Regions from separate parts of the Homo sapiens genome. Here regions 1, 2, 3, 5, 6 and 7 are each linked to region 4. The links are contacts of gene promoters, found by promoter capture Hi-C in blood cells and fetal thymus (Javierre and others, 2016). All regions are on one chromosome and are shown on one strand. The core of a region is centred on a gene start or on the middle of the fragment in contact, and the rest is flanking DNA. Distances in the headings are between cores, read along the strand shown.

Region 1 (3,775 bases), core at 1,054-3,553, 330 kb before region 4:
GTGCCTGTGAAAAAGAAAGGAAAAAAAAACATATAGTTACTACTGAAACTACTATAAGCAAAGGAAATTCCACCCACCAACACACACAGTTTTGAACATTTGTTTTCTTTTTTTTTTCCAGCTTTACTGCAAAACCTATTTCAACTCTGAGTGAAGAAGACAAGGCAGGAATATATTACACAAACACTTTGTTTCATTTATTGCTTTCTGCTTTTCAAACCACCACAGAAGCCTTACCTGCAAGCTCCCACTCTTCATAATGATTAAAAAAAAAAACCACCACACTACTATCTGATTCTAGTCACTGCAAACATGCAGAATTTTCTACTGTACCCTTAACTCTCACTGTTTCAATCTGCCCCTTTACTGACAGTGTGCTGGGTGGGGTGCCTCTGGAGGTTGAGACATTAACAGTTGAGCGAGAGATGTGGATCTGCAATAACATTACAGGCAATAAAAAGAGACATTAAGAACGTGCTATCACCGGCTGAAGGATTGAGAAATTTCTTTAAAGACACTGATTCAATCAGTGGGAGGTATTTATGGAAAGTACCTCTTCAGCTTTAGTTTCACCATTTTCAGATGGTGCAGTACCTTCCTTTCCAGCTTCCTGCTTTTCCTCCTTCTTCCCTTTAGCACCTCTGCTAATCTTTGCTCCAGGTTCTTTCTAACAGAGGATCAAAGCACAGTGAAAGAGAATGTTAGACACGGTGTGATGATGGCTAAAATCAATCAGCCTCTGTCCAAACACAAGGTGAAGTACAACCGTTACCATCATGGTGGCCTTTATGGAGACACGGGAGCCTAATTTTGCTGGGTTTCAACTGAGTTACACTGCACAAATATGAGTCTCTGTGAAAATGTAGTAACAGGTTGCACAGAAAGTCCAGTGTACTTTCTCTTCTGTGGAAAACACAATGATTCCTCTCCTGGATTTGTTCAGTGGACCTCCCCTCCAGTAAGGGGAGAAGTGGTTCTGCCATGGAGAGAGCAGCTGCAGGACTTGGGGAAGGAGGAAGCAGAGCTGGGGAAGAACCCAGCCAGGGGGTGGCTCTGTGGCTGCTTTCCAATGAACCCCTCACGTGGAGACATGTGGCTTGCATGACTAGAAAGCTGGGAAGGTGCAGGGAAATGAAGCCCAGATGAAGAAAAGTTCCTAATTTTAAGACCAAACAACAAAAGTGAGTTCTGTTTCTGAAATCACCTACTCATGCCACTATACACATAAGTTTTAAACAATTCACATGGGACAATACCAAAGGGCAGAGTGCAGAAAAGCCATTTTGGGTAAGTTCCCTAAGAATTCTGTACCTCAGTTTCCTCATCTGCAAAACAGGATATTTGTATCTACTTCAACAGAGTTGATGTGAAGGTCATATGAGTAAAGCAATCAACCTTATCTGCCATACTATAAGGGCCTTATAAATGCCAATATTACCTGCTGGCATTATTATATTATTATTATTAGACCTCAGACTGGCCTGCGAAATCCAGTTAGATGAAGTCAGAAGCCCCTTCCCAAATTCCTCCCATAGTGGGGCAGTGCTGCCAGGGCCCAAACTCATCCCCGCTGTGTGCCGCATGAACCGCATGTTCACGAGGCTGCTGCCAAACCCCCTTCGGACATGAGGCTTCTCAGAGCAACATCTCTGACTTCCCGTGCCTCACTGACCAAATGGAAAACACACTCCTATTAACGCAGAAAACTGTGCTTTATGCCTTTAAGCAAGCCCGTAACAGTGGTAATGGTTTCAGTTTGGATCATTAAATACGGCCTTTCTTTGAATGATTCTGAGGTAGGGAATTATAATTTATTCATTGTTTAAAAAGCCAAAAGTGGGAAACAGCACTTCTTACCTTAGCAGATGTTTTTCTTGGTTTGGGTTCAGGTTTTGGTGGAGCAGGTTTCTGCAAAGATAATTTAAATTACACAAATACTGAAAAAAAAAAAAAACTATCAGCACCAAAAGAAACACAAAAGGACTAACAAAGACAACTATCCATTTTGACATGGCTTTGGTCATTAAAAAGTATTTCATCCTATTTTCAGCACCAGGTAACAGCATAAAGATCTCTGCATTTCATAACTATTTTCACCCTGGGTTCACAAGGGAACTGCAGGTGAGATTGAAAAGCCGACTCCTTATTCCCTGGTCCAGAATAGCTCTCCGGGAACAGGTCTAAGCTTCTATCTCCAATGTGTCTGCTCTTCCTTTTATCACAGCACAGCAGCAAGAGGAATGACTCAGGCCCATGGCCAAAGGACTCAATGAATTCAGTTGCACTGGCCTTCCTAACAGTCTAGAAATCACAGCACAATCACTAGCAAAGCCCAACTGGTAATGAAGACTGCTGCCTGTGAAGTATTTCAAAATCACTTCCAAATCCTTCCACTTCTAATGTAGATTTCGAGTTCTGTTGCCAAGCTTCTTCCTACTTTTATTCTCCCCAATGCCAGCTCAAGGTGAGAATCTCTTGTCTAACCAGATATGCTGGGCTCATTTGTGTCTAAAGGTTTTTATTGAGAACATCATTATAATGATAAAATGTCTACTGTTAGCTCCCAAAGTTTAAATTTTTCACAGATATTATTAGCCAAACAGTCCCCTAGGAAACTATTTTTCTCTTGCCTCATGTGGTCCTCCTCCAGTTCCCATGAGCAGCACCTGCACACCGTGTGACCATGGACCCTCTGCCACACAATGCTTCAGCCCTGGCCAGCTTCCCAGGGGCCTGAGACCAGGTGGCACATGCGGATAACTGGGGAAAGATAACCATTTTACACCAGGAGTTTTCTGTGGATATTTTAGGGCAAATATTTCTCTCATAGAACTAGAAAAAAGTGTACATCTCTCCTGGCACTAGAAGAATGGTTTTAAAATAGAAAACACTGGCCAGGGTCTCCCCCTATGGAGAAAAATACATGTTCCTCCCTAGTGCCTCTAGGTAATTCACGTTCACACTGAATCTGCCCCTTTTCATCAAGGGCATAAAGTGAAATTGTAGACAGTTTGATTTCAGAAGATTGGCTGTTAGAAATGACCTTTCAAATAAAAAAAGAAAATCGAGCTTGAAAAGTTAAGAAATGTTTTTATTAATCTTCTTATCACCCTAAATCTGCAGGCCAAATACAGCAGCTTTCATGGCTCTTACATTTTCAGAATTTAAAACATTTTGTCATCCTAAGCTTTGATATACTGTATTAATATACATGTTTTCTCCATTTACAGTAAACAATTTCCTTTTATATTATTTTCTGTAGGACAGACCTTTCCCTCTGACCCAGCATTCAAGTGTTTTGATAGGACCAGGAAATGAGGTTTTGTAGTCTGTAATCCTGCTGGCCTCTGAGGAGGCTCTGTTTCGGTAGCACAGGGAATGATCTCAGTGGAAGGTGCTTATATTGCTGGTTTCTGGTGCTCAGGAAAAGCTTTGTTTTAAACTTTGGTTTTCATTTGACTTACAAGGTCTGTTCCCTTAACTGCCTGGAGATTCACAACAGCAACCCCAGCTCTTAAGTCCTCCTAGTGACTGACACCTCTTCCTAATATGGTTTAGCTGTGTCCCCACTCAAATCTCATCTTGAATTGTAACTCCTACAACTCCCATGTGTCATGTGAGGAACCCAGTGGGAGGTGATTGAATTATGGGGGTGGGTCTTTCCTGCACTGTTCTCATGATTAGTGAATGAGTCTCATGAGATCTGATGGTTTTAATAACAGGAGTTTCCCCGCACAAGCGCTCTCTCTCTTTGCCTGCCACCATCCACGTAAGA
Region 2 (3,732 bases), core at 491-2,990, 270 kb after region 4:
ATTTTTTAAAAAAAGTTTACCTCATATTTTATAAACTTATGTAAGTTGGCTTAATAAAATTTAATGCAATATAAAACAAAAAATGCTAAAAACATAAAGCAATGGTTTTCAAGATGTGGTCTCAAAGTGTGATTTCCAGGGGTTCCCAAGACCCTTCAGATCTGCAAGGTCAATTTGTAATAATACTATGATGTTACCTCGTGTTTTCCTTTCACTCTTTCACAAGCAACCCGTGGGTTTTCCCATGCTGAGTGATGATGTTATTGACTGCTAACGGAATGTGTGCCTGTGCATTCTCATGATTTAAAATTCATCCCATTTTAATTTCTAATGTAGTAGATGATAAACATTACTCAAATAAACACAGTTTCTTTGGGTCCTCAATTATTTTTGATGTAAAGAAACCCTGAGACCAAAATGTGAAAGAACCACTGATGTAAAGGTAGCCAAAGGACAGATGTGTCCAGGTGAGAGGTGAAGCCAGCTGGACTTCCTGGGTCGAATGGGGACTTGGAGAACTTTTCTATCTAGAGGATTGTAAATGCACCAATCAGCACTCTGTAAAAATGCACCAATCAGTGCTCTGTATCTAGCTAAAAGATTGTAAATACACCAATCAGTGCTCTCTATCTAGCTAAAGGATTGTAAATACACCAATCAGCACTCTGTAAAAACGCACCAATCAGCACTCCATGTCTAGCTAAAGGATTGTAAATGCACCAGTCAGCACTTTGTAAAATGGACCAATCAGCACTCTGCAAAATGGACCAATCGGCACCCTGTAAAATGGACCAATCAGCAGGACATGGGCGGGGCCAAATAAGGGAATAAAAGCTGGCCACCCAAGCCAGCAGAGGTAACCCGCTCCGGTCCCCTTCCATGCTGTGGAGGCTTTGTTCTTTTGCTCTTTCCAATAAATCTTGCTGCTGCTCACTCTTTGGGTCTGCACTACCTTTAAGAGCTATAACACTCACTGCAAAGGTCTGCGATTTCACTCCTGAAGTCAGCGAGACCACGAACCCACTGGAATGGAGAAACTCTGGACACATCTGAACATCTGAAGGAACAAACTCCAGATACACCATCTTTAAGAACTGTAACACTCACCACGAGGGTCCAAGGCTTCATTCTTGAAGTCAGCGAGACCAAGAACCCACTGGAAGGAATACATTCAGGACATACAGGTACTTGAAAGGAACTATTCTTCATGCTGGGCACCAAATCTTCTAGTTTATCTAACAGTAAAGTCGATAGGAAACATAAGGGTTAGATGGTAAGTCATCTCTAGAGCCTGAGATGTGACTTGGGTAAGTTTTCTAACAACAAAGTATAAGAAGCCCTTGTGTGGAGTTCATGTATAATGATCTACTTATTTAAAAACGATATATGGGATACTGGATAATAAAACAAAGTATCTTTATTGCAAGAGTGGTGCATCAATTTCCTATTGCTGCATAATAAATAATCACACATTTGATGGCCTAAAAACCATACCCATTTGTTATCTCACAGTTTTTGTGGGTCAGGAATCTGGGCATGTCATAACTGGGTTCTCTGCTCAGGGTCTCACAGGGCTGAAATCAAGGTGGATTGCATTCTCATCTGGAGGATGCAATGGAAATGCTAGGATCTGCTTCTAAGCTCCTGCAGGTTGTTGGCAGAATTCATGTCTTTATGACTGTAGAATTAATGGCAGCTTGCTTCTTCAAAGCCAGCAACAGAAATAAGAGTCTTTACTGCTTCAGGTCTCGAACTTCAGGGAGGGCCTGGACCCTCTTTTAAAAAGCTCACTGATTTGGCCAGGCCCACTGAGGGTAAATGCTCTTTTGTTTAACTAAAAGTCACTTGATTAGGGATCTTAATTATACCTGAAAAAAGTCCCTTCGACTTTGCCATAAATATAATTACAGGAGTGGTATTTCCTTACTTTTGTTGTATCTTATGGTTAAAAGCAAGTTATGATTTCCACCCACATTCATGGCAAGGGGATTAAGAGCATGACTCATTAGGGGTCACCCTATGGTGTATCTGTCAGAGGTGGGGAACAGATTCAACCATAATCAGAAGGGTTTTAATACAAAGAGTTTTAATACAAAGGCAGCACAAGTACATGACTAAACTCCTGAGTGAAGACCTTAGAAGTAATATTCTTTTGGGCAAGATTCCCCTTGTGTGAACAACATTCCAGACTCTCAATCAAAACACTACAGTCAAAATGAGAACACAGAAATATAGAAGCATTGCTACCTTGGACAAATGAGGCAACGACAAAGATGATGTAAAAGGTGAATCAGAATCAAAATAAAGCCGCACCAGGATCCTACAATTCTGCTACTAATTGGTTTGGTGAATTTGGCACCTCTAATCATCATTGGCAAACACTAATCATGCTGTAAAAGCTAATTAGGATTAAGGAGCATTATCCGGGAGGCCAAGGGGAAGTGTATGAGGTTTTAAAGGCCCTAATATATGTCTTTGAATTTGTTAGACTGATATTTTAGTATTTTCCAAAGCTCTCTTCCTGAAAACTGTTGAGAAAAAAAGCTGATAGGATTTTTAAATGAATATCCTACAGATGAGGGGGTATTGAAGGAATTTTCTAGGAATAAACTAGTCTAACTTGGAGGTGATAATTTCCTTCTGTAAAGATGGAGGAGGCCACTCTCAATGCCCATGAAGCAGAAACAATACTTGTAGAATTTATCAGAGGAGCTCATTCATCTAGATGATAAAGGTTACTATTTTGGGGAGAGGGGAACAACTTCAGTGGCTCTCTGTGCTCTGTACACAGTCTGCTCTCAAAACTGTTGATTGAAGATGAGGATGAAGATAGTGAAGATGAAGAAAATGATAATCCTCAGAGAGTTCAAAACCCTACCTCTAAATAGCTGTCTTTGCTAATAATGCCTTGTTACTAACCAGGGCCATGTGACATGAGATACACGACTGGCCTCCAGCTGAGGAAGGTGAGAGAATAGAGAGGAGAGGGGACGCTGCCATGTCAGGGAGCTCTTGGGTGGAAGGCAGACAGCCTCAGAGACAGATTTCACCTAATGTAAATGTTTCCCAGAATGGTTGCTATTTTTGTTCTAAGTAGTTTGCTTATGCCAAAAGTGCATATTTCCCCAACAATCCTCAGGAAATAAGACACAGAAGTCTGTCTTTAATTTTCATGATATCCTGCAATTTAAATCAGTCTGGGTGCATCTGTGTGGTTTTTATTTTTTGGTATTGTTTAGATGTAATTAAGCAAATCAATACACAGGTACTTAATTATATATTAACAGGGCCATTTGTTAACAAACTTAGTTATAGGATGGAATTAAACTGTAGTAAAGATTTAAAAACCTGCAATAAATTCAATTAATATCAGGTCATTACTCAGAATCTGAATTTATAGATATATTACCATCTTGACAGGAATTTATATTGATTGGATATTTTGAATATTAATAAAATATAAAATTTAGTATTAATAAGTGGGACTATGGTACAATTTTAAAAAGAAAAAAACAAAATTGTGGTTTTTCTAGTTCTTTTAGAGTTGAAGGGGTTAATATGTTTCTCTGAGTCTCACATATTTGTATTTGCCTCTATGCCTATCAAAATTTTATAAAAGCTACTCTAAGATTGGTTTTCTTAATTTTTGTTTTTCGTCCATTTATTCGTGTTTATTAAGGAAAACGGTAATGGAGCTAAAGGTAGGTGAGTCGGCTGTAATTAAGGAAGCTA
Region 3 (3,710 bases), core at 1,075-3,574, 420 kb after region 4:
TGTGGTGGGGAATGAGTGTGCCAGGGACTCCCCAACAGTGAGGGCCTCTTTCTTCCTCCTGTGCTCTCGCTGAGGCTGGTGGTCCAGGGGTCTTACTCCTTGGAGGCCATGTGGGCCATGAGGTCCACCACCCTGTTGTTGTAGCCAAATTCATTGTCATACCAGGAAATGAGCTTGACAAAGTGGTCGTTGAGGGCAGTGCCAGCCCCAGCATTGAAGGTGGAAGAGTGGGTGTCACTGTTGAAGTCGGAGGAGACCACCTGGTGCCCAGTGTAGCCCAGGATGCCTTTGAGGGGGCCCTCTGATGCCTGCTTCACCACCTTCTTGATGTCATCATATTTGGCAGGTTTTTCCAGATGGTAGGTGAGGTCCACCACTGACACGTTGGCAGTGGGGACACGGAGGGCCATGCCAGTGAGCTTACCATTCAGCTCAGGGATGACCTTCCTCACAGCCTTGGCAGCCCAGTAGTGGCAGGGATGATGTTCTGGAGAGCCCTGTGGCTGTCACGCCACAGTTTCCTGGAGGGGCCATTCACAGTCTTCTGGGTGGCAGTGATGGCGTGGACTGTGGTCATGAGTCCTTCCACGATACCAAAGTTGTCAGTGATGACTTTGGCCAGGGGCGCTAGGCAGTTGGTGGTTCAGGTGGCATTGCTGATGATCTTGAGGCTGTTGTCATACTTCTCATGGTTCACACCCATCGTGAACATGGGGGGATCAGCAGAGGGGGCAGAGATGATGACCCTTTTGGCTCCCCACTGCAAGTGAGCCCCAGCATTCTCCATGGTGGTGAAGATGCCAGTGGACTCCATGACATACTCAGTGCCAGCATCACCCCACTTGATTTTGGAGGGATCTGGCTCCTGGAAGATAGTGATGGGATTTCCATTGATGACAAGCTTCCCGTTCTCAGCCTTGACGGTGCCATGGAATTTACCATGGGTGGGATCATACTGGAACATGTAGACCATGTAGCTGAGGTCAATGAATGGGTCATTGATGGCGATAATATCTACTTTACCAGAATTACAAGCAGCCCTGATGACCAGGCGCCCAATACAACCAAATCCATTGACTCCAACCTTCACTTTCCCCATGGTGTCTCAGGGATGTGGTTGGCAATGCAAGAGAAGATGCAGCTGTCTGTCAAACAGGAGGAGCAGAGAGCCCTGCCTAAATTATTTCATGCACTCTCATAGCGTTGGTTACCATCTGCATTCATAACTCTCAGATATATGTGTTCAACCTAGATCTTCTTTCCAGCTCATGTATCTCATAGCTTGTGTGGTTCTCTTTAATGTAACTCAGGCATCTTGAAAATCAACATGTTAAAAACCTATCTCCCCCCCTCCCACAATCTGTTCTTCTTTCATATTTCCCTATTTCCACACATGCCAAAAGTGATCAATGACATTTTATAATATTCTCCCTTCCAACACACATCCAATTCATGACCACCTCCTATTAATTCTGCTTGCAAAATATATCTTGATTTTTTCCACTTCCCTCAGCTCTACTGCATATAATTTAACCGAAAATTCCATCATTTCTCTCCCACCTTAAACACTTCAAACTTCAATCACCTCATTTTTTTTTTTTTTTTTTTGAGACAGTCTTGCTCTGTCACCCAGACTGGAGTGCAGTGGCATGATCTTGGCTCACTGCGACCTCCGCCTCCCAGGTTCAAGTGATTCTCCTGTCTCAGCCTCTTGAGTAGCTGGGATTACAGGCACTCACCACCATGCCCGGCTAATTTTTGTATTTTTAGTAGAGATGGGGTTTCACCATGTTGGTCAGGCTGGTCTCGAACTCTTGACTTCGTAATTCGCCTGCCTTGGCCTCCCAAAGTGCTGGGATTATAGGCGTGAGTAACTGTGCCTGGCCTCAATCACCCCTTAACTGATCTCTCTGCATCCATTTATTTCCTCCTACAATTTATTCTCACACAGTACTTTGAGTATCTTTTAAAATTGCATGTCAGATGATGGCATTTCTCATCTTAAAATCTCTTAATATTTCTAGTACTCTCAGGAAGCTCCAAAGCCTCCACATCTAGAAGCTTAGAACATTGTAAATCTTTCTTCTTGCCTAATGAAAGTGTGATCTAGAATGCCTATCATTCCTTTACCACTTCTGCTTTTAGTATACAGGGAAGCTAATCAGGACCTCCTTCTGTTTCTCCAAAGAGCCAAGCTTCCCTTGACTCAGGGCTTTTGCACATAACTTTCTCCCTCTTGGAATACTCTTTCACAACCTCTGACTAGAGCTAATACCCACTTTACCTTAAATGTATGACCTAGGAAAACTCTGACTCCAATAACAAGGTTAGATCCCCGTTACACACATGTTCACGGTGTCTTGTACTTTTTTGTCATAGTATTTGTATCATTTAGCATTAGATATGATTACATATTACAGAAAAACCCAAAAGAAAAGTGCCTAAAGCAAAATAGAAGCTTTTTATTTTTCACTTCCTTAAAGGATGTCAGGATGTGGACAGACCAAAGTTAGTAGAGATAAAAGAGCCAGTAAAAGGTAAGCACGTAATAACAGACCTTTAAGATACATAAAGCAATATTTGACAGACTAAGAAAAAAATTAGACAAATTCAAGATTATTGTTATAGAATTTAATACCCCTATTATATAATTAATATAATAAATAGGCAAAGATAAATTATAATATAGAAGAGATGTATTACACTGTAAATCATTTGACCTGGTGGAGGCCAAATTCATGGGCATGAAACAATCACAAAGATCTATAATTTTATGGGCTGTTAAATAACTCTTAATAAATTTCAAATAGGAAATAATATAGAACTTGACCACAAGGGGATTAAATGGGAAATCAATAACAATGAAATATCTATAAAAAATTTTAAGGTCAAGCACAGTTGTTCACACCTGTAATCCCAACGTTTTGGGAGGCAGAGGCAGGAGGATCAATTGAGGCTGGAAGTTTGAGATCAGCCTGGGCACCTAGTGAGGCCCTGTCTCAACAACAGCAACAGAAAGTATCCAAACTAATTTATTGAGAGTTTTTAGCATGAAGGGCTGTTGAGTTTTGTCAAAGGCCTTTTCTGCATCTATTGAGATAATCATGTGGTTTTTGTCTTTGGTTCTGTTTATATATTGGATTACGTTTATTGACATGCGTATGTTGAACCAGCCTTGCATCCCAGGGATGAAGCCCACTTGATCATGGTGCATAAGCTTTTTGATGTGCTGCTGGATTCGGTTTGCCAGTATTTTATTGAGGATTTTTGCGTCGATGTTCATCAGGGATATTGGTCTAAAATTCTCTTTTTTTGTTGTGTCTCTGCCAGGCTTTGGTATCAGGATGATGCTGGCCTCATAAAATGAGTTACGAAGGATTCCCTCTTTTTCTATTGATTGGAATAGTTTCAGAAGGAATGGTAACAGCTCCTCCTTGTACCTCTGGTAGAATTTGGCTGTGAATCCATCTGATCCTGGACTTTTTTTGGTTGGTAAGCTATAAATTATTGCCTCAATTTCAGCTCCTGTTATTGGTCTATTCAGAGATTCAACTTCCTCCTGGTTTAGCCTTGGGAGAGTGTATATGTCGAGGAATTTATCCATTTCTTCTAGATTTTCTAGTTTATTTGCATAGAGGTGTTTATAGTATTCTCTGATGGTAGTTTGTATTTCTGTGGGATTGGTGGTGATATCCCCTTTATCATTTTTT
Region 4 (4,053 bases), core at 1,087-3,586:
ATTTTATTGTGTGTCTACTGAAAAAAATGGATATAGCTCACATTCTATTTCAAATGGACAATGCTAGTTTAAAAGGATGGCACTGGCTGGGGAGTAGTGCTAAAGTAATAATAAGTGGGACTGGATCGGGTGGAAGATAATATCACAAGAAGAATCTCTATGTCATTAATAAGTTGGTTGGAAACCAAGGCTCTTCAGTAGGGTTAATATTATCAGATCTGACATTTGCAAGGATCCATCTCCAATCTAAGAATTGGAGGGCAGGAAAGCTGGAGGAAGAATATCAATTGGTCTCGATAATCACTGACAGACAGTGTTTTGAAAGTAGTATAACTAGAGATACAGAGTACGGAACTGATTCCAGAAATGTTTTTCAAGTAAGATAAACTACACTTGGTGACAGATTAAATATGAAGTCTGAGAATAGAGAAGAACTTGAGTAAATTCCAAAGTTTTGGGCTTGCAAAATTAGGAGAATGTGGTATTCAAGCAGGACAGCTTTGGCAGGGAAAGGTGATGGGTTCAATATTGGACATACTGAGTTTGGGATGCCTATGGATAGGAAATTTATGTGGAAATACCAAAAATTAGCTACAAAAGTTTGACAGTAACTCAAAAGTTCCAGATCAGAAATAAAAAATTGGGAGAGTGTTAATAAAACACAAATAGTGTAAGCCAAAGGAGAGGAAGAACACAGCCAAGAACACAGAGTAAAAAATAGAAGACGGAAGACTGAAGACTGGATTATTGGGAAAAACAATAATGAAATATGGTGGGCCGAGGAAGAAGATCCCACAAAGGAGTTGAAGAATGACAGGCAGATGAAGAACCCAAGAGAAGGGTAGCATCTTTATTTAATGGGCTTCCATTGTGTCCTACAGAATTATAGTTCCACAATATGTGTAACGGAAGAGATGTGACTCACAAAAGAAGAAAAATCTCTTTTCCAAAGTCACAAACTACTTTTTGATATTTAAAATGATACTTTGTCAACTTAGAGAATCAAAACAAACTATTATTTCCTATAACTTATTTGGATAAACATACTAGCTAACATGGGAAATCACAAAGTGAAATATTTAAAATGGTAATATAGAATTTAAATGTGGAACAACTGGAAAAAAACATAGATTAAAATAACCATGCAAAAGAAAGAGGGAATGAGTAAAGAACTGGAAACATCGGTTTTACCATTCTAAAACACATATAGCCACTCCCTCTGCCAAAAACTAAATGATGACTTCTGATTGCAAAGATATCTCTAATGCAAGTTCTTAACGTGAAGATAAAGGAGGGGAATAAATATGTATGTGCCCAAGTATACTTTCCAAAGAACAAAGTGAACAAAAAAGGGGTTTATATCAGATGAACTGGACCAGGGCTCTTCACTGTTAAACACTATCCCACGGTCTATCTAACGTAAACATCACGTATCTGAGTACCGACTCCAACTCGAGTATGCCAAAAAGGCACTTTCTTTTTTCTTTTATTTCTAACCATCTTTACTCCTCTCATCCCATCCCTGAAGGATGTATAGAAGTATCACAGCCTGGACAAGTACGGCTTTCCACTCTAACCACAGTTTTAATAATAACACATCTATTATTATCCGAGAGCTACCAAAGCCTCCTTTTCCGTCTTGGCCCTTGGCCCTGCCCCTCCTCTCTAGTCTTGAGTCTCCACGGGCCTCCGGGGTTTTTGTTTTGTTTGTTTTAATAACAACCACTTCTCTAGATCCGCTTGCTCCCTTTCTTCTCTTCTCGGTCCCAGGAAGTAAATACCCTTTCCCAGCTCCTCTCCTCCTAACTTCCCAGTCCCCCCAGTGCCGGTCAACCTCCCTTCCTCGGGACCCTCTCAGAAGCCGAGCTCTTTACTCATTTTCCTAGGTCTTCCTTCTCCTCGCGGTCCCTACATCCTCCCCCATCCCTAATCCCTTCATCTTCCCTGCTTTAAGAACCACCCGCAGGCCCCCATCCACGAACGCCCCTTCACTAGCTACCAGACGCTTCAACCCAGCCTCACCTCGCACCTCCACCTCCCCCGCCGTCTCCACGCCCACTTCAAAGCCCACCTCCAACCCGCAGGCTCTTCAGCAGAGCCGATGCGGCGTCCCGCCTCCTTGCCTTCCCTCTTAGGACCAAACTCCCAGCTGGGGCCTCGGCGTCTGACCGCCAAAGAGCGGGTGCCTGGTTCCTGCGGAGGCTGCCGGGCGGGTGCCGAGGTTGCCGAGATGCGGGAGGTTTGAACACAAGGATGGGACAGAGGCGAGGATCGGGGCTCCTGGGTGGCAGCGGCGGTAACCTGGGCTCCAGGGTAACGGAGGCGGAGGCCTAGACTGCACTACGAAGAGACCGCAGCCAATCATGATGACTCTACCCGAGCTCCCATTGGCTTCTGTCTCCAGACGGCCCTTTTTATTGGCTTCAGTGGAACTGGAAGGCGGGACGGCGAGTGCGGGAGAAGGTCTCCATTGGCCGACCGCTCTAGCTGTAGCGGAGACCCCCAAGTAGGGAAATTGGGGCAAAACGCGGAGCGCTCCAGGCTCCTACGGGCTGTGCGGTGCCAGGGCTCGACTGCTGAGCGTCGTGGGCTCCGAGAGGGACGCGGGCGGAGGGCAAAGTGGGTTCATGATATGAATTGTAAAATTGGCGACTGCGTAATGTAAAACACTTAACAATTGCTTAGATTTCCTTTGGGAAATAACTTGCTTTTAAATTGTAAACAAATTACAAACAAACTGCTAGTGCTTCTGGATCTTCTTACCGAAATGGCTGATTCAGGAGGATGCGGGGTGAGTGCACTATTGTTCCTGCCTCGAGATCCTGGCTGTGAATCACCAACGAGCCGTGAGTTTGGCTTGAAAGTGATTTTTAGGTTTTGGAACGGGTTTGGGGTGGAATGGCATCTGAAATATTTGCACACAAGTTTTTTTTTTTTTTTTTTTTTTTTTTTTTTTTTTTTAAGGAACGTTTTGAGGAGCATGTCAGCCTATTGAGCGCTGATGTGTGACATATTTTCTCTTTTAGAAATGGCATTAATTGCGGGAGACAGGGAAGGTAAAAAAAAATCCTCTTTCGTGAGGGCTTTAAACTGCTCCGAGCCATCTGATTATCAAGGTGGTTTAACACTACTCTGGTGTTCTCACTATTGTTAATTTCTCACTGGCCTTTTTACCACCATTCTGTAGAGAATCTAATATTTGAAGGCAAATGCGTTTAATGAATCTTCTAACCATGAAGATTGGTAATTCCTGCTTCTCGCTCAACCTCGTTTTTCCACCTTTGCACTGTTTCAAAGCTTTCATTTTATCCTGTCAATACATTTTACTTCAAGTTACAGACTAACCCACCCAAACAATATTGTGATTAAATGTAATTTTCTGTATGCGAAATACATCTGTACAAGATGGCAGTCATCTGTTAGTGAAAATAAGATGAGTAATCCCTAAATTGCACGGAATTACTTTTCATCAATTCTTTAATCTGTCTCTGCTGACACTGTTAAAATAGCTCACTCGTTATTATGGACTCTGTTAGAATTAACATGTAAATGTATGGGTGGATTACTTATAAAGGAAGTTGCTAGGAAGAATCAGAAAACATACCGTATTTACGTGGACAAATGTCTGTCACAGGAGCGTCAGATCAGGATTGCTGAAGGAGAGCTGAGAATGAAACCACCATTTATTCAGCACTCAGAATGCTCCAGGCAGTGTAATCTCATTCCATCTTCATTCATGACTCCAGACAGGTATTGTTATTCATTGTTTATACTTGAGAAAGCAGATTCAGAGAAGTTAAAGTATCTACCACAAGGTACGAAAGTAGTAAGTAGTAATGCCAGAGTACAAGCCTAGGTCTGCTTCCAAATTTCGTGGTTTCGGATTTAGTGCCTTCATTGTGTTTCACCTACAGGTTAAGAAGTTGTTGGTAAGCAAGAAAATATTTAAGACGCTGGGAGAATCCAAAAAATTGTCTAGTTGTGTGTAACATAGTCTCAGGATTCTTACAGTGTGCAATTTTATTCACCCCCTCATATTCAAAATAACAGTAT
Region 5 (4,191 bases), core at 543-3,042, 480 kb before region 4:
AGTAGGCAAAATGGGCAATCCACTACAGGTGTTTCTTAAAATAAAGCAAAGATTTTCCTGAAAATCACAATGGAAGAGAGAGAGAAAAAAATTATCTTAAACTCTAAAAATAAAATAGTCTTTCAGAAAGGTACATCAATCACCTGCTTGGCAATTAATTCTGTTACCTAAATGAATCAATTACATTTCTATGCTTGGATGCAAAACCCAAGGTATTTTTGCCATACGTATATATAGGGTTCTGTACCATCTGTTGTCTCCGACATCCACTACGGATCTCAGAATGTATCTCCTGTGAATAAGGGAAGATAAATGTTCCTCTCTCCTTGTCAGCAGTATTTACTAATCTGACCATCAACGACGTGGCCTAAAATATTATATTTGATTTTATAAATATTTGGTTCCCTTTTACAAAAAATGACTAACACCAATTTTCTTGAGTAGCCAAGTGTTATTATTAATAAATTCAGTTTACTGGGAATAAAGCATAGCATAATGGAGTCAAACAGTCTGGGTTGAATCCTGGCTTCACTTCTCACTGCATGTGTGAACTTGGTCAAGTTACCAAAATCTTTCCATGCTTCAGTCTCCTCTGTAAAATAAGCATAATAGTTCCTACCTATAGAACATTTAAGGTTTTAAAAGAGTAAATAAATAGAAAATGCTTAGAACAGTGTCTGGCATACAGGAATTACTCACAAAGCAAATGTTATTTACCATCAATCATTCTTACACTTTCATTACCTACCACAGGCCTGACTGACAATGTACTGAAAGAACAAGCATAACGTGTTCTCCTTATTATGTGGATCTATAGTTTTTCAAAGACAGGATAAACTTTTCCTAAATGGGAAAACTCCTATAATATTTTATCTTTCCCTTCTTGCAGGAATCCTATTATACCACCTTAGAATACTTTTCTAAGTACAAATATACCCTCGTCTCTCAAATTTTTTTGTTGTTTTAATGGTTGTTTATTATAGCAAGATTATATATTGAAATTATTTAAACAGGACAATCTTATGTTTTAAAAAAAATCATAGATGATTACCCACCACGCAGATATCACATACGTTATCTCTGAAAAGTAAGTCAGAGCAAACAATTCAGAATACATCAGAGAGTCAAAAACATGTAAAACATAGAAGAAAGGATAACGAAGCAGATAAAGTGTTTAAGTCCCATAGGAAAGGAGAGAGAAAGGAACACAGAGGTTATTTTAAGATAATGACTGAGAATTTTTCAATGTCAATAAAAGACATTTCCAGAATCTAAGCAAGACAAATTTTTAAAAAATTAACATCAAGACATATCATACTCAAACTGCAGAAAACCAGAAAGAGAAAAAATCTTAAAAACAATTAGAGAAAAAGGGATTGCCTTCAAAGTAGCAAGTTAGATAGTAGATTTAAACCCAAGTACATCAATGATTATATGTAAATGACTAAATGTTCCAGATAAAACACAGATTATCATATTGTATTTTTAAAAGCCACTTTTATATTTTTAAAAGACAAGAAATAAAAGGAAACAAAAAGTTGAAAGCAAAATTATATATATATATATATATATATATATATATATAAAAATGCCAAACAAAAGTCATATAAACTTACGATCTGTATAATAAGTATCCAGAAAAGGAAGAATTAAGTAAGATTTGAACAGGTGGAAGAAAGAAGAGTAACATTCCTGGCTAGGCAGGAACATGAGAGTGGAAAAGAAGCTATGATTGAACTTTGAAGGTCTCTGAAAATTAGGAGTACACTTAGAGAAAGTACAACACTATTAAAATATCTTAACCTCTTTATACTATCTTCAGCAGAAGAGTGACACAACAAAGGTAGAACTGAATAAGGTTACTATTACAGTGTTACACACTATACTGGGAGGGAGAGAGAGATAGAAGACACCATAGGCAAGAAGATTAGTTTGGATGATGCTGTATTAATCCGGGTAAGGCAAGGGCCTGGTAGTAGCAGATGTGAAAGGCATGAACCTAGGAGGCATCTCAAGAAGACATACTTGCATCAGTACTCCCTCTTTGAAACTTTAGCCAAAAAAAGAAAAAAAAAAAAAAGTACTGTGCTCTTAAAAAGATAACTACTTTTGTCTCCTACCATTATAACTAATCTGAATTATATATTGATTCTACTAACTCGACCTAATAATATATACCTTAATATGGAACTTTCGTAAAAATAAAATTCCAATGAGCTAATTGGCCTACATAAGGTGCAATGTGCACAATCCCTCATTATACATGACTTTTTCACTATTAAAACTACTACTAAGAAAAAAAATCTATTTTTTTCTTTTTGAATGCAGATGTACATAATATGAAGTTCTCTAATACCACAGTAACTAAAAAACCTTTTCATTTTCAAAAGCTCTTTACCAAGAGGCTATTAACTACTAGTGAACTCAAACAACTCACCAATGCTGGGTGGGCTACCATAGTTAACTGGTGACTCAGGTGGTCTTCCACAGTGCAACGCAGCCAGAGCAGATCCTTTCCACACAACATGCTTGCAGCCTATTAAACACATGTATTTTTATGCATACAAAGAACACAAAAACAAAAGTGAGATAAATAATGTCTAAATCCTATGAGAAAATTTTCATACTTTTATTTGTGCGTAGTAAAGACTGTCTTCCAGCTCCTAATAAAGTTTGTACTCCAGGAACACTTTGAGGAATTTCTTGTTCAAGAAGAGGTCCTAGTCGATGACATATTTGCAGCAAGTGATCAGGTGCTAAGTGTCTGTAATACTTCACCTATTATGTAAAAGACAAATATAGTAGGTTTCAGTTTATCATTTTAATTTTCAAAATCTTTGAGCAACAATAAAAAAATTCATCCAAGTATAAAATATTTTGTTTTGCGTCTTTGATGTAAAGTAAATCTCCAGAATAATTAAGAATTAAGAACTGATAGTTTGTTATTAAAAAATTTAAGAACACTTAACATCTATGCTGAATTTCATAATTTACCAAAAACCTTACAGAGAGAAAGGCAAAATTCCAACTGCTGCTTTAAATATCTTTCAATCATAAAATAAAGCTACCCACTATAAAAAGTTTGAGCACTTTTGGAACAACTTCAAAATACTGCTTAATTTATACCGGCATTTGAAACCATGACATGAAATGCTAATATTTTTATTAGTCTTTCAGTAAATAAACAATATTCACTATCTAAATAAAATTATATTGGAAAAAAATACTATTGTATTACTTCATAATTAGCTATCAAGTTAGAAAAAAATTTCCACAGTAGTATCTAGTTCAGCTATTCTCAAAGTATGTTTTGGGAACCCCTGGAGGTCCCTCAGATAAAACTTATGAATAACACTATATTAGTTGTTTTTCACTTTTTCTCATGAATGCACGGTGGAGGTTTCCACAGGACACATAACATGTGATGTCTTAACAGACTGAATGCAGAAGCAGATAGGAAAATGTCTCCTCTATTAAGCCAGATATTAAAGATTCACAGAAATGTAAAACAATGCCACGCTTCTCACAAATTTGTTTTGTTTGGGAATAATTATTATAAAAATGTTACTTATATTAAAATAAGATTAGTTTATTAGTATTATTTAATAGGTCTCCAATATGTTAAATGCTAAGTTTCTAATATGGTAAATACCAATAGATTATAAGCTACACAAATAAAGGAACTTCAATACATTTTAGTAAGTGTAAAGGGGTCCTAAGACCAAGAAATTTGAAAATTGTTCCTCAAGTTTACCAAGTAATGGCAACTTTAACATGAATTCCTTTTGATAAGACTGATGTGGGGGGAGGTGAGGATTTAAATCATCTCATTCCATCTTGCAATATCTGCTATACTCTTAACTGCAGAAATCCATGAATGATATGTTTTTAAAGGTAGCTAATACCCATCTAAACTGAAGCCAATAGGAGAAACCTACCTTACTCTTTATCAAAATACACTCCTTCTTTCACAAAGATAACATGGAGCCATACTGCCACCAAATAATCTTTGGTAAGATTATTTAAAACAGCAGTTTGGCATACAGTAGGTGATAAGCCAGTAAAATGAGTATTTTTGGAAAAAGGAGTTCTAATACAGTTTGTATCATATGAATTATACATATTACCTCCTTGTTTTGCAGTCAAAAAGCACACTGACATTGAAGTCTCTGAAAAATCCTGAGATTATTT
Region 6 (4,114 bases), core at 948-3,447, 500 kb before region 4:
ATAATGCAAAAGGGTTCAATGAAAAGAAAAATTCTCCTCACTCTTCTAACCACATCAATCATTAGCTCTCCATTGCCTTCAGAAAAGAAACCCACTATTTAGCAGGTCACAAAAGTATCTTGATTTTGTACCACACCAATATCGCTAGTTCTTTATGATGAGCCATATTTATTCTATGCCATATCCATTAATACACAATTGCATGTTACATTCTCCCAAAGTCTGTAATTGCCTTTCCCTAAGTCTGCAATATCCAATTCGACTCCTAAATTTACCAAGCTGTTACTTCTCTAGTAAATTTCCCTTACCATCTCCTACCACAAGGTTGGATTAGGTATCTTTATCTCCTATGGTATCTCAGTACCTTGTACACCTTCTGTCAAGGTTTTATCACATTATATCAATATTGTTTGTTTACCATCTGTGAACTCTCCAAGAACAAATACTACTTTCAATTCTATATCCCAACTGCTTAAAACAGTGGCTGGTTCATAAAACTCTGAAGTTCATTAAAGGAATGCATAAACTCATTTTCTTTATTATACCATATTAATTAGAATCAGAGAGACAATTTATGTTTCTGAAAAGGGGGGAAAACTCTGCTTTTTATATGGCGTTCCATGTACTTTTGAGTGCCTTAGTTGTGAAAATTCATTAACTCTGCTTTTCTCCGTTAAATGTCACTTAAGGAAATGATTTTAAAACCAAGTAAAAAACATTAAAAGGCTAAAAGAGAATTAGTGAACAAAATCTGACTTGGCAATTATGCTATTTCCCTCCTTGGGTTTTTCTCATTAAAATAATTGGGAAAGCACCCATTCTTAAAATACTGTCATACAAAATAATGATACATTTTCCTAATACAGAATTTCATTATCAATTACAATGATTTCCTTTTTAATTCTTGTATACCATTTATAAATAAGATTTTATTTGGATAAAAAATAAAAGATAAAATTTACTTAAATCTATAAGTAGCAGTAGGAAAAACCTAATGACTGCTTTCTATTTTGTTCAGTACTAATTATATGCATTATTTCATGTAATCCCACAAAAATCCTATGTGGTTGGTACTATTATCATCTACTCCCCTCTCTCTTTAGGTGATGAGAAAACTGGAGATTAAAGAGATGAGGTAATCTGTCAAAGTTTCACTAGTAGAAGTGGTAAAGCTGTGACTAAAAGCCCTCTGATGTCAAAGCTGATGCTTTTAACCACAGTACTGTATGCCTCCAGCTGTGCCTGTTCAGAAAGGACTCAAGAGAATCCCTTGGAAAAAGCTTTCAAATATATATACACAAATATCTTAGAAATAAATCTGCAAGGTCTTAAAATACCAATTATATAAAAAGGAAATACTGGTTGATCCATTACCAAATTGTTACCTCCAAAAATAATAACAGTATGTTCTCTCACAGGAGTGTTTCACTGGTCAATCATGATCTACTATCTTAAAGGCTGATTCTATCTATTTTCAAGACTGATTTCCATAGGACTAGTTAGCGTCTAGTCTGTGCCTAGTGAAATGCAAAAAACACTCAGCACCCACTTTATTAATGAGCAATATGAATAGTGAACATATGTGTACCCTACCACCACTTGAAGTGAAAATAATAAAAATACAAGAATTTTTCAAAAAAATAGTGCCCTCATATCTTCGTTATTTCTTATTGTAAGGTAACATTCTGAAATCTGTAACTCCAAACCACCAGTAAAAAATTACAAATGAGACTGAATTTAGCAAAACAAATTCTATCACATTCTTAAAAAATAAACATCTTTAGACTTTGGTAAGACCATATAAAATAGTACAGTGCTACTTTTCTTCTCTTAATTGATGTGCTTTCAACTAAAGAAATAACCAACAAGCAGCTTCCTCTTCGCATATTATTCTTGTTCTCTAAATCACATGCCCTTAAAAGAAAGAATCAAATGTCTAGAAAAGGATAGCAATTTTTTTCTGTACAGAGCTGGATAAATATTTTAGGCTTTGCAGGCCATATGTTCTCAGTCAAAACTACTCAACTCTGCTGTTGTAGTGCACAGGCAACCATAGACAATATATAAACAACTGAACATGCCTGTGTTTCAATAAAATTGCATTTATAAGAACAAGTGACAAACTGGGTTTGAGACGCAGGCAGCAGCATGCTGAACCCTGGTTCAAAAAGCTCTTCCAAGTCTGTACCTACCACACTCATGAGATAGCAAAAAGCACACTATTTCACTGCATTCTCCCTAAAAAAATTCCAGGAGATTATATGTCTAATTAATATCAAAACATGTAAAATGCTTCATAAAATATGATAAACAAATGCTTACAATCCCTATCATTTTTAAAGAAAGAATTCCTACAAGGTTCTTTACAATGGCATAACTTTATACTGACCTACTGGCACAATATAGTGCTCCTTTTTCATTATTTTAATTTATTACTGTTTTTGAAAGAATTCTTTCAAACATTAGAAAAATCAAATTTACTTAAGGTTTTTGAGAGGTGAATTTGAATATACCCATATTAAACTTGAATGGCTAAATTAATTTTCGATTACTATTTGAGAGCAAATTACTACTGTAGGTATGTCAGGCACTTCAGCAAATATAGAGATGCCTATTTTCCACTCTGAAAATAATACTTGATACAAGAGAACGTAAAAAGGGAAAATACTGATATAAGAAGTGATGTGCAAATGCCTGAGGTAGATTAGAGCCAAGGGAAAAGAAAAGTATAAAAATGCATTCCTACATCCTGCTATTTAGCTGTTTTACAGATGACTGGGTGTATGGATAGAGGAGAAGTAGTAGGTATAAATAGGTCTCAGTTTACAAGCAAATTTACTAAAAAGAGGAATCTATAATTGTCATAACTACGTAAAATTCACAGCTGCTCTCTTCAAAGACAGGAAAATTTCCATTTAACTTCCACTTCAAATTTTCTTATTTCAAAAGAAATTAAAAACCTTGTGAATGAATGCATACCTTCAGCCCACAGGGTAGTGTTTAATAATAAATATCATCATAATAGTGTAGTATTATGCTTAATGAATGTAGATGTTAAGGCACCTGAAAATCAAATATTTCCAAAAGTAATTTTCTCACTTAAAATAAAGCTCAAAAGCTTTGCTTTTCTCTATTCAACAGGTTACAAGAAACAATAACAAATAAACAAACCCAAAGAGGCTCTATAAACAAAACATCAGATATTTTGAAGAATGAACTGTTAAGAATAACAGGTAATAAGAGTATTAGATATGCTCAGAATTTTTTAGCTTTTTTAAAATCACTATTTTAAGGGAAATTTCTCATAGACAAGCAAGTGATTTTCTACAGATAATATAAAAAGGTATATTCAATAATCTCATACAATTATAAAAAGGCACATTTAATAATCTCTCAACATACTTAGATGTCCTTAGTTCAAAATTAAAATTATTTTATGCCATTTTGCAAAATGTCAAACTGTGTATTTGATATATGTTGAGAACCATACTTATTCATGATGTACAACCATATAATAACTGTGACTGTGCTGCAACATGTCATTTAGAAACTTTCTGAATTTGGATAAAGTCCAAATTTAACTAAACTCTTCTGTTAGAGTAAGTGAAACCACCTGAATTTCCGGTTTCCTATTAAAAGAAAAAAAAGCAAGGTTTTACTTCAAGTTCACCTATAAGCAATATTTCCTCAATTACATATATGAATATAAATAATACTTTAGCAATTACTTACAGTAAATATCCGTCTGCCAGTTCGATCAAAAGTTACACAGTACACAGATGACAAGTGTCCAAGAATTCGTTTATGCATTTTCATGTGCTGATACACTGCAGTTGGAACAAGTCGCTCAAGTCTGTATTTCCCATTCAGCTTCCTTGAAAACAGAGTATCCGCTACCAAGAAAAAGAAGGAAAATAAATGTAATCTGGAAATTAATTTTCTTACATGATCACCTTTTAAGAATTCACATACTCCAATTTGTCATGTGCAGGTAAAAATAAAGAAGCTTTCTGATATATATGGCTTCTAGTTAAAAGTCTTTAAAGTAATGAATAAAAACATTGTTTCACCTGAAATAAGTCAGGCACTATCATTCTCACTTTATAACTTAATT
Region 7 (3,744 bases), core at 492-2,991, 470 kb after region 4:
ATAATTATATGACTCAGAAATAATTTGAGAACCCTGAATTGTTACCCATTCAGATGATTTCTGAGTCCTAGTAATTGTCTTCTCCAATATGTCCTTTGCTCTATCAGGTTACTTTTTAGAACTATTATCCCTTTCTTCTCTAGAAAAATGGATTCCTCCTTGCTTGTTAGAGAAAATTTGGCAAGGCTTCTTTCTCTCCATTCTGCTTGAAAATTTCTTGAGGTATTGTGGCCTCTCAATAACAACCATAAATTTTACATGTTTAGAACATGTAAATATTGAAACTCTTAAATTGAGTTATCTGTAAAAAAGACGAACTTTATCTATACCACTTTATCTGCAATGTGGTAGTAATGCACAGTGATGCAATGTGGTCAAATGCATTGCACAGTAATGCAGTGTGGTCAAATTATGATTATTTTGAGCACAGTTGATGGCTTGGCTGTCAGGAAATAATGCAGCATCCCTGAAGTCCTATGCAGAGTCTGGTGTGTGAGTATTTTTATAGGGATGGAGGACATTTCAGTTTTTACCAGATTCTTAAAGAAATCTCTGATCTCAATACTAAGCTATCTGATTAATTAAGCTTCTTAAGCCTTTCTCTCTTTTCTTGTGCTAAAATACACAATACATGAAATTCTACCACTACTTAGTAAATGTAGATGTAAGCACTATCAAAGATATTTTTAAAAATTTATAAACTACCAGAAGCTAGAGATCATCTCTTAAGCATTTTTATACGCTAAGTACCAAGTGCATAGCATAGCTCAATGGCTCCCATAAATGTTGATAATATTCTGTAAGATATGTGATGTATACATTTAATATTTATATGTCAAATGCTAGGGGTAAGTTTACCAATTTTTTTGGTAATCTGTCCATACTCAGAAAGGTAATTATGATAGTTCCTCAGTTATTCTGCATTCTTTTTCAGGCTGGTATAGCTGAGTGTGACAGCTAAAGATTAATCTGTATTTATTATGTTTTTCCCCGAAAATCCTTTTGATGGAAGATGCTCTTTAACAAAAGATGTCATCCTTCCCTTAACTAAATGTCATTATGAATGATACTTATTATAGCATGTTGTAAGAGACTGATGCTCTTGGCACTTTTGTAACATCTAGAATGCCCTCCTGTTTCTAACTGTTGTGATTGGCCTTTGCTGTCCCCTGTTGGTAACTGCTTTGTTACACTTCTGTTACTTCTGAAAGTGGACAGTGGTGATAAACTAATGCAAAATTACGTCAGCTACATATTGCAAGGAAACTATTTGGTATGCATTGTTATCAGAAGAGAGTTGGTTATCTGCATAAAAAGTGAGAGATTGCTTACTTGCCTATGAAATAAAATACATGAGCCTTGGAATAAATATTTTTGCTTAAGTCTTTTTGATTTTTTTTTCTAGGTCCTGATGAATACGTATCTGGGTGGTCTGGGTGGTGGGCATTTTACTGCCTAAAAATGACAATTATCTTTTGCTTTGTTAGGTAATGTCAAAAAAAGTAAACAACTTCTTCAAAAAGCTGTAGAACGTGGAGCAGTACCACTAGAAATGCTGGAAATTGCCCTGCGGAATTTAAACCTCCAAAAAAAGCAGCTGCTTTCAGAGGAGGAAAAGAAGAATTTATCAGGTAACTATTAAGGTATACTAATACTTTCTGTGGTAGGTAGTACTTCAAATAAAGATTCGGGATAATAATTTATAGAAAAATATTATTTATGTAGAATGGTTAAAATCTAAGATTAAATTGTAAAGGAGGTAAGACTGAGAAGTAAAAAAGTCTCTACAACCCCATGCAAATTTGTCTTTTTTGCTAACTAAACTTTCGTTAACACATGAAAAACAACTCTAAGCAAGAGAATTTTTTTTTTTTTGCTTTTGGAAATAGAGAATGTGCTTTTACCCTGGGGAAATAGTTATATAATTTAAGAGAATTTGAAGAAGTAGTTAGATAATTATCTTGGTATCATCTTCATGTCTGCATATCTTACTTGGGGACAAGTATTTCCTATGAATTGACTTTTAAAATATTCTTATTTGTAAGATCACTTTTTTGTACTTGTCTTATTTCTTATAAATTTAATCATAGTTTCAAAATTTTTACAGCATCTACGGTATTAACTGCCCAAGAATCATTTTCCGGTTCACTTGGGCATTTACAGAATAGGAACAACAGTTGTGATTCCAGAGGACAGACTACTAAAGCCAGGTTTTTATATGGGTAAGGAAACGGAAACAGTTTTTAAATGTTCATCTTCTATGTAAGTACATCTGTGTTTTTTAATGTAATTACATGTATCTGCATATATGTTTTCATGTGTGTGATAATGTTTAGCAGTAGAGTAGAAATACATATTAATATTGTTCTTTGAAAAATTGGGGGTATTTTCTTTCTGTTTAGAGAGAACATGCCACCACAAGATGCAGAAATAGGTTACCGGAATTCATTGAGACAAACTAACAAAACTAAACAGGTAAGTTACTTTCAATCTGCTTGATTAAGGTGGTGATAGTCTTTATTTCCTAGTTGGTTATTTAATCTTTCAAAATATTTTTAGTCATGCCCATTTGGAAGAGTCCCAGTTAACCTTCTAAATAGCCCAGATTGTGATGTGAAGACAGATGATTCAGTTGTACCTTGTTTTATGAAAAGGTATGTTGAGTTTTAATTTTTAAAATTTGTTGTCCGTATGGGAAGATTAATGGCAGAATGGTCTTAAAGTCTTTTACTGAGTAATAGTAATTATGATTAAATTTTTATTCAGTTTTAGAAGATAATCTCTAAATGTTGTCAGGAACAAAGGAATGAGTGGAGAAAATAACTTTGTTTTGCTTTTTCACTCATTAAAAATATTCATTAAAGGAGCTTTAAAAGGAAAAAATATTAAGTCAACATTAAGCTTAAAAGACTGATATTTGAGGATTTGTCACTTACGGGTAGGCTGTCTGCTAAGAATCTCTTCCTGTTTTGTTTGAGAGTCTCCATAACGGGTAGAAGGAGGTCTGGGAACAAATATTTGCTCCAGATAGTTCAAGGGGAGAATCGCTGTCAGTGGGATAGATGATTATTCTTTTGCTTGAGTCTAGTGCTTCAAGAAGTGGGACAGGTTAGGTACAGATGAATTACTGTTCATCACATCCAGTGTGTTCTCCTTCCCTCAATTTGCTTGTTTATTCCCTGTTAAGAAATGGGAATGTAGCCTGTAGCTCAGCTAAAGGAGAGTTATTTTGGCCTATTCTTAATTCTGACCAACATTTGTAATATTTATATTGGAAAAGGCTCCTTACAGTCCAGAGAATCATTTTGCAAATAAACTTTAGAAATACGATTGTTTTTCATTACTATCTTTTATAATTACATTTCTATTATATTTAGACTTGACTAAATATTGACATTAAAAGAACATTTTGTTTGTCAAGGTTAAGCTTTAAAGTCTTATCACTATGATTTCATCTTGTTCATCTCTATTTCAAATACCTAGCTCAAGAATAAAGGAGATTTTCTTCCGCTCCAAAAAATTAAAAACAAAAACAGAAAAACTGCAGCCATTTTCTTGGTTCCTGTTATCGATAGACAATGCTAGGTACTGTGGAGGTCCACAGAAGTGCTATACCCTGGTTCTTATCCTTTAGCTATTTGTAATTGGAAATGTAGTTTCATCTGTATACTTTGCCTTTCCCACAGTCTAACCCTAACTCCAATTGTTACTGATTAGATAATGAAGAAGTAGGCGATCACCTGT

The links. The method cuts DNA at HindIII sites, captures the fragments that hold promoters and counts their contacts. A CHiCAGO score of 5 or more calls a contact.
Region 1: a fragment that was not itself captured here is called in contact with the fragment with the promoter of LCA5 in region 4 in 1 of 17 cell types (M0 macrophages); the score reaches 5.1 in M0 macrophages.
Region 2: a contact is called between a fragment that was not itself captured here and the fragment with the promoter of LCA5 in region 4, in 1 of 17 cell types (monocytes). The highest score is 7.9, in monocytes.
Region 3: a fragment that was not itself captured here is called in contact with the fragment with the promoter of LCA5 in region 4 in 1 of 17 cell types (fetal thymus); the score reaches 5.6 in fetal thymus.
Region 5: a contact is called between a fragment that was not itself captured here and the fragment with the promoter of LCA5 in region 4, in 4 of 17 cell types (megakaryocytes, erythroblasts, naive B cells and 1 more). The highest score is 10.8, in megakaryocytes.
Region 6: a fragment that was not itself captured here is called in contact with the fragment with the promoter of LCA5 in region 4 in 1 of 17 cell types (megakaryocytes); the score reaches 7.3 in megakaryocytes.
Region 7: a fragment that was not itself captured here is called in contact with the fragment with the promoter of LCA5 in region 4 in 1 of 17 cell types (total B cells); the score reaches 5.4 in total B cells.

The regions. Positions count from the first base shown.
Region 1 is chr6:79,201,723-79,205,497 of GRCh38, forward strand. It overlaps HMGN3 (high mobility group nucleosomal binding domain 3), which reads right to left. Exons shown (of 7, transcript NM_001201363.2): 4 at 1,858-1,908; 5 at 554-667; 6 at 341-433; 7 at 1-4. Among named protein-coding and RNA genes, the nearest start is that of HMGN3-AS1, 30 kb to the right of the region's middle. The HindIII fragment of the contact is 241 bases long and covers 2,184-2,424 here.
Region 2 is chr6:79,806,107-79,809,838 of GRCh38, forward strand. LINC01621 (long intergenic non-protein coding RNA 1621) reads right to left here. Exons shown (of 5, transcript NR_131786.1): 3 at 1,108-1,235. Among named protein-coding and RNA genes, the nearest start is that of LINC01621, 4.3 kb to the right of the region's middle. RefSeq lists an enhancer at 366-1,565. The HindIII fragment of the contact is 4,092 bases long and covers 1-3,732 here.
Region 3 is chr6:79,952,913-79,956,622 of GRCh38, forward strand. The region is part of intron 1 of LOC124901351 (a long non-coding RNA gene); the gene reads left to right. It also overlaps the pseudogene GAPDHP63. Among named protein-coding and RNA genes, the nearest start is that of ELOVL4, 7.2 kb to the left of the region's middle. The HindIII fragment of the contact is 263 bases long and covers 2,194-2,456 here.
Region 4 is chr6:79,535,094-79,539,146 of GRCh38, forward strand. It overlaps LCA5 (lebercilin LCA5), which reads right to left and starts at 2,337. Exons shown (of 8, transcript NM_001122769.3): 1 at 2,072-2,337. It also overlaps a transcript of SH3BGRL2 not described here. RefSeq lists enhancers at 2,233-2,806, 2,801-2,850, 3,381-3,954. The HindIII fragment of the contact is 3,782 bases long and covers 1-3,295 here.
Region 5 is chr6:79,058,041-79,062,231 of GRCh38, forward strand. PHIP (PHIP subunit of CUL4-Ring ligase complex) reads right to left here. Exons shown (of 40, transcript NM_017934.7): 5 at 2,628-2,778; 6 at 2,438-2,536. The region is part of intron 1 of LOC124901346 (a long non-coding RNA gene); the gene reads left to right. Among named protein-coding and RNA genes, the nearest start is that of PHIP, 18 kb to the right of the region's middle. The HindIII fragment of the contact is 5,266 bases long and covers 1-4,191 here.
Region 6 is chr6:79,039,111-79,043,224 of GRCh38, forward strand. PHIP (PHIP subunit of CUL4-Ring ligase complex) reads right to left here. Exons shown (of 40, transcript NM_017934.7): 7 at 3,733-3,893. The region is part of intron 1 of LOC124901346 (a long non-coding RNA gene); the gene reads left to right. Among named protein-coding and RNA genes, the nearest start is that of PHIP, 37 kb to the right of the region's middle. The HindIII fragment of the contact is 1,838 bases long and covers 1,279-3,116 here.
Region 7 is chr6:80,009,327-80,013,070 of GRCh38, forward strand. TTK (TTK protein kinase) reads left to right here. Exons shown (of 22, transcript NM_003318.5): 5 at 1,488-1,631; 6 at 2,108-2,222; 7 at 2,403-2,475; 8 at 2,560-2,654. Among named protein-coding and RNA genes, the nearest start is that of TTK, 6.6 kb to the left of the region's middle. The HindIII fragment of the contact is 2,315 bases long and covers 585-2,899 here.